Linked DNA regions of Homo sapiens: all the other regions are linked to region 2. Evidence: promoter capture Hi-C in 16 types of primary human blood cells and fetal thymus (Javierre and others, 2016). All regions are on one chromosome and are shown on one strand. The core of a region is centred on a gene start or on the middle of the fragment in contact, and the rest is flanking DNA. Distances in the headings are between cores, read along the strand shown. Region 1 holds the start of ZNF780A (zinc finger protein 780A). Region 2 holds the start of DYRK1B (dual specificity tyrosine phosphorylation regulated kinase 1B). Region 3 holds the start of CCNP (cyclin P).

Region 1 (3,032 bases), core at 196-2,695, 260 kb before region 2:
CAGCTTTCTTTTGACTAGTGTTAGGATGGTGTATATTTTTCCATCCTTTTACTCTTAACCTTTTAGTGCTTTTCATTTAACATATTACCTGTAGGTAGCACCCATTTGGGTCTGACTTTTTGTTTATTTATTTATTTAATTATCTTTTTTTATTATACTTTAAGTTCTAGGGTACATGTGCACAAAGTGCAGGTTTGTTACATATGTATACATGTGCCATGTTGGTGTGCTGCACCCATTAACTCGTCATTTACATTAGGTATATCTTCTAATGCTATCCCTTCCCCCTCCCCCGACCCCACTATAGGCCCCGGTGTGTGATGTTCTCCACCCTGTGTCCAAGTGTTCTCATTGTTCAATTCTCACCTATGACTGAGAACATTTGGTGTTTGGTTTTCTGTCCTTGCGATAGTTTGCTCAGAATGATGGTTTCCAGCTTCATCCATGTCCCTACAAACGACATGAACTCATCCTTTTTATGGCTGCATAGTATTCCATGGTGTATATGTGCCACATTTTCTTAATCCAGTCTATCATTGATGCACATTTGGGTCTGACTTTTTAAAAAATCCAATCTGACAATCTTTTTAAATTAAGGTGTTTAGACCATTTACATTTAATGTGATTATTGATATGGTTGAGTTAATCATCTTATTTGTTTTCTGTCACAATTCTGGAATGAAAAGACGTTTTGCTCTTTATTATTACATGTTTCCTCCTTATGTAGCATAGGAAACTAGAAAAATGATTTTGAAAGTTAAATATTGTTAGACTACAACAGTGAAATCAGGCTCTTCCTAGGAAAAGCAAGCCCTTTTTTGCATTTGTTTATACTATTTTAACAAAGTGTTAATTATTCATCCTTCAAGATAAGGCAAGTAATTATCTGTGTATTTTTATCCGTTTCCATGTCGTCCTGAATCACGTTTTTCTCTCCAGATAACAGGAACATTGTCTCGAAGAATCCAGGACATTTGATTCTGAAATCTCCAATGTGAACCACACTTCCTCTCCTAGTATATAACCAACCAATTCTTTAGTTCAAGCTTTTCAAATTTATCCTAAGTCCCCTTCAAATAGCACAGAGAAGTGGAAGCCTATCGCTGGGGTCTGAGACAAAGGAGTTAAAGCACCTACATGTTGACATAATTTTACTTTAAATTCTTCTTTCTTCTTTAAAAGTTCTGCTCATTTGCATTCTCCATGGAGAGAAAAAGTAAATTATACTGACGCTCCGAGAGGGAAACGCTCTTCTCACATGGGGATCCTTGCTCATGGCAACAACCTGTGCACCCCGCGGGCTGGAACTCCCACGAATCCACTAGGCTCGGCTCCCTTAGGGGTCAGCCCCCATAGTATGCTGGGATCAACCTGAACGGATCACAGCTCAAGGCTTCTGAGGCTTTTTCTGTTCGGGACTGTATTTCCCAGCGGCCACCGCGCCAGTCCACTTCCGGTCTCCGGGGTCGACGACATAGCGGGGTAAGGTCTTCACGTCTGAGGAAGAGATCTGTGGCTGCGGGAGATCTCTGCGGATTGGGGCTCCAGCCTGACTGACCCGACAGTGCGGGTGGCCTAGGGGGAGGCGCTCAGAGTAGGAACCCGGGGGTGCAGACGGGATCTGCCGGATCCCCAGGCGTGTGTGTGCGCGGGTATCAGAGGAGGGGGATTGTGAGATCATGAGTGACGGAGGGGACTGTGAGTGTGTGCGTGAGGTTCTATGCACAGGCCCGGGAGGGCGTGTGGACGCAGCGCACTTTGCTGAGTGACACTGTGCCGGTGCCCCTAGGCTCCTGCTGCTTCCTCCCTCTTTCCGCTTCACAGCTGCGGGGACTGCAGCAGAGGAATGGCCCCAGTAGGGAGGTCAGATATTGAGCCGAGAATGAAGCTTTACACAAGAAAGCGCAGAAGTGCCCCCGAGTGTTCCCCAGGGGGGCAGCTACATGTTGAGAACCACAGCGTCCTCAGAGCTCTGTCCCCAGAAACCAGCTCCAAACTGGTTGTACTGGTTGAATCGATTCCTCTTCCTTTTACTTCCTTCCTATTTCGTGTGAAGTGAGGGAAATTGTGGCTATGGAGGGAGGGTGTTTTCAAACTTAGTCTGCGCTCCAAGAAATGCCTGGAGTCTCACGCTTGCCGTATCCTTCTCCAGTCGTATTTTTATCCAAAAGAAGGACCTGGAGGAGGATGAGAGCGTTACTGCTGCACACCTAAAGTCAAGGGTGAGTTTGTGCTTTGTATTTGTTCAAGACATGCGTTTTTGATTTTAGAATATTGAGATTTCCCCTTAAATTTTCAGTGAAACTAGGGGGATATGCAAATTGATTCGTGCCCCCTCCTTCACCTTTCCACTTAATAGTCACAAAACAATTTGGCAAATCGTTCACACCTTCCTGTGCGCTCTCTTTTTCGAAGCTGGTATAGAAATACACCTCCAGTAGTTAATATTAAAGCTCCATTTTAGACCCATATTTGGGAAGGAGGAGATTAGTGTTTAGGTGGAATCACACACTAGACATCAGTTGGTCTTTACAGACCTCCTTTTCAAAACAGGGAAGAATGGAGATGGTTGGATGATCTCCATTGCCTGTGAGGCATTCGGTAGTGGAAAAGTGACCGCACAGAAATTGGTATCAACAAGAGCCAGGATTTTTCCAGGGAGTCCATGAGATGATATTTGTAATACTTGCCAGATCTCTCTGAGGTTTGGCAGCTCCAGTTGTGTTTTAGGCGTGTGTGTGTGAGTGTGTGTGTGTGTGTGTGTGTGTGTACTGTGAGAGGCAGTACACTGTTGTGGTTAAGAATAGGGGAGTGGATCCAGAGTATCTGGGTTGGAATATTGGTTCTGTCATTAGAATGAATTAATATCGTAAAGCCCCTTAGAGCAGTGCTAGGCATATAATAATGTTTAATATGTTTTAACTGTTGTTTTTTGTGTAGTCATTTTAAGTCATTCCCCTTGACTCTCTACAGAACAGGAGCATTGGGAATATGTGATTCATTGCGACTGCTGGTTGTATATTAAGAAAATG
Region 2 (3,145 bases), core at 340-2,839:
TTTTGCCATGTTGCTCAGGCTGCTCTGGAGCTCCTGAGCTCAGGCAATCTGCCTGTCTCAGGCTCCCAAAGTGCTAGGATTACAGGCACGAGCCACTGCACCCAGCCAAAAACTTTCATTAAGCCTTTTATCACATTTCCTAAACCCGAGTGTCTTAGCCCATTTTATGCAGCTATCACAGAATGCTATAGACTGGGTAATTTATTTATTTTTATTTTTATTTTTATTTTTTTGAGATGGAGTCTTACTCTGTCACCAGGTTGGAGTGCAGTGGTACGATCTCGGCTCACTGCAACCTCCAGTTCCTGGGTTCAAGCGATTCTCCTGCGTCAGCTTCCCGAGTAGGTGGGACTACAGGTGTGCGCCACCACACCCGACTAATTTTTGTATTTTTAGTAGAGATAGGGTTTCACCGTGTTGGCCAGGATGGTCTCAATCTCCTGATTTCGTGATTGAGCCACCTCGGCCTCCCAAAGTGCTGGGATTACAGGCGTGAGCCACCACGCCCAGCCTTAGACTGGGTAATTTATAATGAATGGAAATTTATTTGGCTCCCAGTTCCAAAGGCTGGAAAGTCCAAGATTGGAGGTCTGAATCTGGCGAGGGCCTTCTTGCTGTCATCCATTGGCAGAAGGGTGAGAGCAAGATAGAAAGGGGGCATAATCATCCTTTTAATCAGCAACCCACTCTTGTGATAATAGCATTACTCTATTCAGGAAGGCAGAGGCCTCATGACCTGAATCATCTCTCGAAGGTCCCACCTCTCAACTCTTGCATTTAAGGGTTACGTTTCCAACACATGAACTTTGGGGGACACACTAGAACCATAGCACTGAGTTTTACTTGAATTAATAATGAAAACATCTGGTTTAAAGAGCACACAAGAGAAAAACAGCCCAAAGCCCTGTTGTAGACATTAGTCCTTTCTCCTCTTTAGGCCAACTGCATTGACTCCACAGCCTCAGCCGAGGCCGTGTTTGCCTCCGAAGTGAAAAAGATGCAACAGGAGAACATGAAGCCGCAGGAGCAGTTGACCCTTGAGCCATATGAAAGAGACCATGCCGTGGTCGTGGGAGTGTACAGGTGAGCAGGGGCCCAGCAATACACCAAGACAGACATCTCTGTCCCTTGCACCCCGAGTGCCATGATCCTGGGGACCCTCCTTCATCACCTATCTTCCTCTCACAGGCCACCCCCCAAGGTGAAGAACTGAAGTTCAGCGCTGTCAGGATTGCGAGAGATGTGTGTTGATACTGTTGCACGTGTGTTTTTCTATTAAAAGACTCATCCGTCTCCCATGTCTGCTGCTCATTCCTCCCCTTGACCTGCTGACACAGGGAGCACGCACCCTTGGTCAATTTTGCGGGGTTGGGTAAATTCTCACTCGGTCACAGAGCGCATGCTCCGTTTCTAGCTGCCTTTGCGCAGCGGCAGCCTGGATTTCGGTTCTTGGGTGGGATTGGTAGCTCGCTGCGCATGCGTGCAGGTAAGCGGCCATCTCGCGCAGGCGGAGTGTCAGTGTGGGTCACGTGAGGGGAGCGGAGAGGGAGGGATGGGGGCGGAGTCCAGGGCGTGGGGGGGCCGGTTTGTTGTGGTCGCCATTTTGCTGGTTGCATTACTGGGTAATCGGGGCCCTGGCTTGCCGCGTCCGCCGGATACCCTCAGCCAGTGGGCAGGTCTGAGCTCGGGCTCCCCGAGCAGTTTGAGTCCCCTTGCCCGCTCCTTCAGGTAACGGCGCGGGGACGGGTGGGGCGGCAAGCGGTCGCAGGGAGGTGGGCAGGACGGGATCCGCCCTGCTCCCGTCGCCGTGAGACTTAGCACGAGGCCAAGGGAGGAGAGGAGGGGGGTGGCAGGCAGGTGCGGGCCCTGCCTGGCTATTCATAGTTGAATTCCTGGAACCGGCCAAGCCCGAGGAAGCAGTTGCAGGAGGGAGGCTGGGAGGGGGTAGCCGGGCCCCACTCCCGCCCTTTGTTTGGGCTCAGCTCCGCGGGCCGCTTCTTCGTCGCCTAGCAACAGCTGCCCTAGGCTGTGATTGGCTGAGCTCTTGGCACCAGCGACCAATGGTACAGTTGTTGCCATGGCAGGTGCCGATTGCCAAGCTCAGTCGGGCCCCGCCTTCCGGTCTCAGCAGGCCCAGGAGGGCCTCCTGGGTGGGGGGCGGGACGCCGGGTCCCTAGGGGCTGGTGGTCACTCAGGGTGGGGCGTGTCGCCCCTCCCCCGTCCACCTGCTCTACTCTTCCCCCGCGTGCCCTGGGCTGACCCTTGTCCCCTCCTCTCCCCGCCCCCGGTGGCAGTGGCGGCTGCTGTTGTCACCCACCGGGCCTCCTGTCCCGCTTGCCCTCCCCGCCGCGGGGCCGGCCGGGCCAGAGACAGGCGGTCGCCTTTTCAGCGCCGCCACCGCCGCCATGCTGGCCGCTCGCCCACCCCACTGGGGGCCCCACCGCGCCCCAGCCCCCCGTGGGCCCCGCGCCAGCCCTGACCCGGGTAGGGGGTGGGGGCTGGGAGAGATGATCCTGGTGTGGGAGGGCCCCGGAGAAGAGGTGGTTTTTTGGGGGAAGCTCCAAGGGTGGAGGAGTCGTGGAGTGGCAAGGCATGGAATAGGAGAAAGGGATTTGACATGGGGGAGAGAGTGGCCCATGGGGAGAAGATTTTTGCTGTAGCTGACAACTCTGGGAGGAGAGAACCCTATGTGATAACTTGGGGATTTGACTTTGAGGCCCTCTAGGAGTGGACACAGTTGTGGAATGACCCTGGTATAAAGAGGGGTGCCTGGAGAAAGGTCTGTGGTAGGAATATTAGGGTGTGTGTGTGTGTGTAGGGGGGCAAGGAAGCAGTGTAGGGGAGAAAAGGATGATCACTCTAAACTGTGGGAAGAGACACCTCCTCCTTCTCCCATCAGGAGGAGTGGGCCTTGATTGGGATGGGATATTGGAGTAATATGGGGAAGAACCCTGTTGTGGTAGGGGGAATTGGGATATGGTACAGGGAGACTACCTGGAAGGCTGGTTCCTAATATGGAGGACCTGAAATAGGGAAGCGGTCTTGGCATGATATGGAGAGGGTCCCCTAGGAAAATCGTGCCCTGGTGGATGAGAATGCTGTAGAGATAGGACTCTGTTCTATAGAGGTTCTCAGATAACTTTGG
Region 3 (3,173 bases), core at 330-2,829, 390 kb before region 2:
CTTTCTAAATTGATTGACACCTATCTCAGATACCTTTTGGTTTACACAGTTAATAAACATCTTGTGTAGAGACATTTTGTAGATATCCCGATTCCTATCAGATGTTCACCCACTAGTTTGAACATCTATTGATATTTCTTGCATGAAACGATGCTGTGGTGGTTGCCAAATAGGATTTTCCAACCTTCTACATTATTAGTTCGGCCAGTCATGGCGGCCCACACCTGTAATCCTAGCACTTTGGGAAGCCAAGGTGGGAGGATTCCTTGAACCCAGGAGTTCAAAACCAGCCTAGGCAACAAAGTGATACCCCAGTCTCTACAGAAAAATTTAAAAATTAGCCAAGCATGATGGCGCACACCTGTAGTCCTAGCTACTTGGGAGGCTGAGATGGGAGGATCACTTGAGCCTAGGAGGTTGAGGCTGCAGTGAGCCGTGTTCACACCACTGCACTCCAGCCTGGGTGACAGAGCGAGACCCTGTCTGAAAACAAAACACATTTATTAGTTCACTTTCTAAAGATTAGAAGAGCTTTTCTTTCCCACTGCCTGAGTTATATCAGAATAAACTTGTATTTTAATTTTATTCAGTGGTTTGTGATCTATGACTATCATCTTGATGCTCACATTTTCTAGATTTAGCTAGTGACTTCTGCATCTATGTGACTTGCCCTGCTGTTGGGACACTTTCTGCCACACAAAAATATTCCAGATCTTGTACCTTCTCTTGTATGACCCTGGGATCAGCCATTTCTCCAGGTAGCCCTGGTTCCTTTTAGTGGAGAATGGGATGTGGCGGCCAGGGTTTGGATGTTAGGGGTGCTTCTCACTATTGGGGTGTCGCTGCTCTTAAGCTCTCCCAGTGGATTAAGCTAGGAAATACATGTTTGCATACACACCACTTTTTAAAAAAAATTTTTTTTTTTTTGAGACGGAGTCTCGCTCTGTCGCCCAAGCTGGAGTACAGTGGCCCAATCTCGCTCACTGCAAGTTCCGCCTCCAGGGTTCATGCCATTCTCCTGCCTCAGCCTCCTGAGTAGCTGGGACTACAGGCTCCCGGCACCACGCCCAGCTAACTTTTTGTATTTTTAGTGGAGATGGGGTTTCACAGTGTTAGCCAGGATGGTCTCCATCTCCTGACCTCGTGATCCGCCCGCCTCGGCCTCCCAAAGTGCTGGGATTACAGGAGTGAGCCACCACACCCGGCCACACAACACTTAACTTCTATGTAAACAACCATGTGTTCACACAATTTTATCTCCAATTCCATTGCGACACCGACACCACAAGGGTCATTCTAACCTCCGATCTATGTTTGTACATCCATCCTCTGACGGTGCAAACCCTGATTCTACATTTTGAAATCATCCCGACTTTATGGTCAGGAAAGCGAGGCCCAGAGGGGCTGCTTCCGGGCAGCAGGATGAGGATCTGTCTCCAGCTGTCCGACCTTAGAGGGCTTCGAGAGGACAGAGCCAGCCTGCGGGGCACTCACCTTTGTGCACCTGCCCGGGCGAGGCGGGCTCAGTGCGCACGCGCCCAGGGGCCTTTAAAGCGCCCGCCGCGCGTCTCTTCCCCTAGCTGCAAGGGTCGGTGCTTGGCCTCGCCCGCAACACCCTCCTGGAGGATGCTGGTGAGAGGCAGGGACCAGGGGTCCGGCTCCCGGCTCGGGCCTATCGTTAGGCGCTGGGCCCCCAGGCCCTCTCCTTTGCAGAGTCTCGCTGCCTCCCTCGACGCAGAGCCTTCAAGCGCCGCAGTCCCCGACGGCTTCCCCGCGGGCCCCACTGTCTCCCCAAGACGCCTGGCGAGGCCGCCGGGGCTGGAGGAGGCGCTGAGCGCGCTGGGGCTGCAGGGAGAACGCGAGTACGCCGGGGACATCTTCGCCGAAGTCATGGTGAGCCTACCCGCCGCCTGCCCTGGTGAGGGCGACGCCGGCCCACCGCCCGGCACCCACTCAACACCACTCTGAACTCCCACCGCTCCAGCCTCTCCTCCCTATCACTGGCAGCCGGCGTTCCTTCCCTGCAACGTCCAGGCTTTTGTTTTGTTTTCACACAGCGCCGTTTCTACCGCTGGGAATGCCCTTTCCCACCGTCCCCGGGCTCTTTGCAGTCCCTCCTGGGGTGTTTATGGTCCCCTGTACTTGTCCTCCACATTTATTTGTTTAACAAATATTTAATGGTTTAGTAGCAAATGTTTTAGGTGCTGGAGATGCTGCAATGCTGGCCTCGTTCTGGGGAGATGAGCAAACACATAGAACAACTAGGGAAAGGCCACGCAAACCAAAACATTGGCCTCGCCAGCCTTCAGATATCCCTATGAGAGGGTTGCTGCGGAAGGAAGACTGAAGGGAGGAGTTTGTTGAACGTCTTGCCTGCGACTCTCCTGGGCCAGGATCTCTGTTAGGACCTGAGAGACACTTGTGTTGTGGGCAGAAGTCCCTGCCCTCGTGGGACTGGCAGCCTAGCGGCCAAATAGACAAAGCACACAGGGAGACATCTTCACAGTGAAAATGCTGAGACAAAGAGATAGTGATCGGGTGGTAGGAGTATAGACAAAGTCATGGAGATGTTAGCTGAATGACGGAAAGGTCGAGTAAGGGGCTGGGGAAGGACCCTCTCTGTAGAGGAAACAGGAAGTGCAAAGGGCCTGGGGTAGGAATGGGCTTGGTATAGTCTAGGAGCTAAAAAGAAGGCAGCTGTGGCTGACGCATGGGTTGTGGGGAGAGAGAGGGAAGAGGTGATGCTGGAGCAGAGCCTGAAAGAAATCAGAGTTTTCTCCAAGGGTACTGGGAGCCATGGAAGGGTTTTAAGCTGGGGAGTTCCTTGGTCAGATCTTTCTTTGGGAAGATGCTTCTGGGTGCTCTGAGGCAGAGGGGTTGAGGATTCGTGGTCAAGAGTTGAAGTCTGAGGCCGGGTGCAGTGGCTCATACCTGTAATCCCAGCACTTTGGGAGGCTGAGGTGGGCGGATCACCTGAGGTCAGGAGTTCAAGACCAGTCTGGTCAACATGGTGAAACCCCGTCTCTACAAAAATATAAAAATTAGCCGGGCATGGTGCCACATGCCTGTAATCCCAGCTACTAGGGAGGCTGAGGCGGGAGAATCGCTTGAACCCAGGAGGCGGATGTTGCAGTGAGCCAAGATTGCGCCATTGCACTCCAGCCTGGGCAACA

What was found. The method cuts DNA at HindIII sites, captures the fragments that hold promoters and counts their contacts. A CHiCAGO score of 5 or more calls a contact.
Region 1: a contact is called between the fragment with the promoter of ZNF780A here and the fragment with the promoter of DYRK1B in region 2, in 1 of 17 cell types (fetal thymus). The highest score is 5.2, in fetal thymus.
Region 3: a contact is called between the fragment with the promoter of CCNP here and the fragment with the promoter of DYRK1B in region 2, in 14 of 17 cell types (neutrophils, erythroblasts, M2 macrophages and 11 more). The highest score is 22.0, in neutrophils.

The regions. Positions count from the first base shown.
Region 1 is chr19:40,089,356-40,092,387 of GRCh38, reverse strand. ZNF780A (zinc finger protein 780A) reads left to right here and starts at 1,445. Exons shown (of 6, transcript NM_001142578.2): 1 at 1,445-1,482; 2 at 2,153-2,222. RefSeq lists a silencer at 1,294-1,623 and an enhancer at 1,171-1,712. The HindIII fragment of the contact is 842 bases long and covers 1,049-1,890 here.
Region 2 is chr19:39,832,606-39,835,750 of GRCh38, reverse strand. DYRK1B (dual specificity tyrosine phosphorylation regulated kinase 1B) reads left to right here and starts at 1,589. Exons shown (of 11, transcript NM_004714.3): 1 at 1,589-1,728. FBL (fibrillarin) reads left to right here. Exons shown (of 9, transcript NM_001436.4): 8 at 938-1,083; 9 at 1,189-1,293. The coding sequence ends at 1,213. RefSeq lists silencers at 1,777-1,886, 2,147-2,416. The HindIII fragment of the contact is 24,958 bases long and covers 1-3,145 here.
Region 3 is chr19:40,225,095-40,228,267 of GRCh38, reverse strand. It overlaps CCNP (cyclin P), which reads left to right and starts at 1,579. Exons shown (of 5, transcript NM_024877.4): 1 at 1,579-1,893. The coding sequence starts at 1,627. RefSeq lists an enhancer at 1,192-1,745 and a silencer at 1,772-1,891. The HindIII fragment of the contact is 9,498 bases long and covers 3-3,173 here.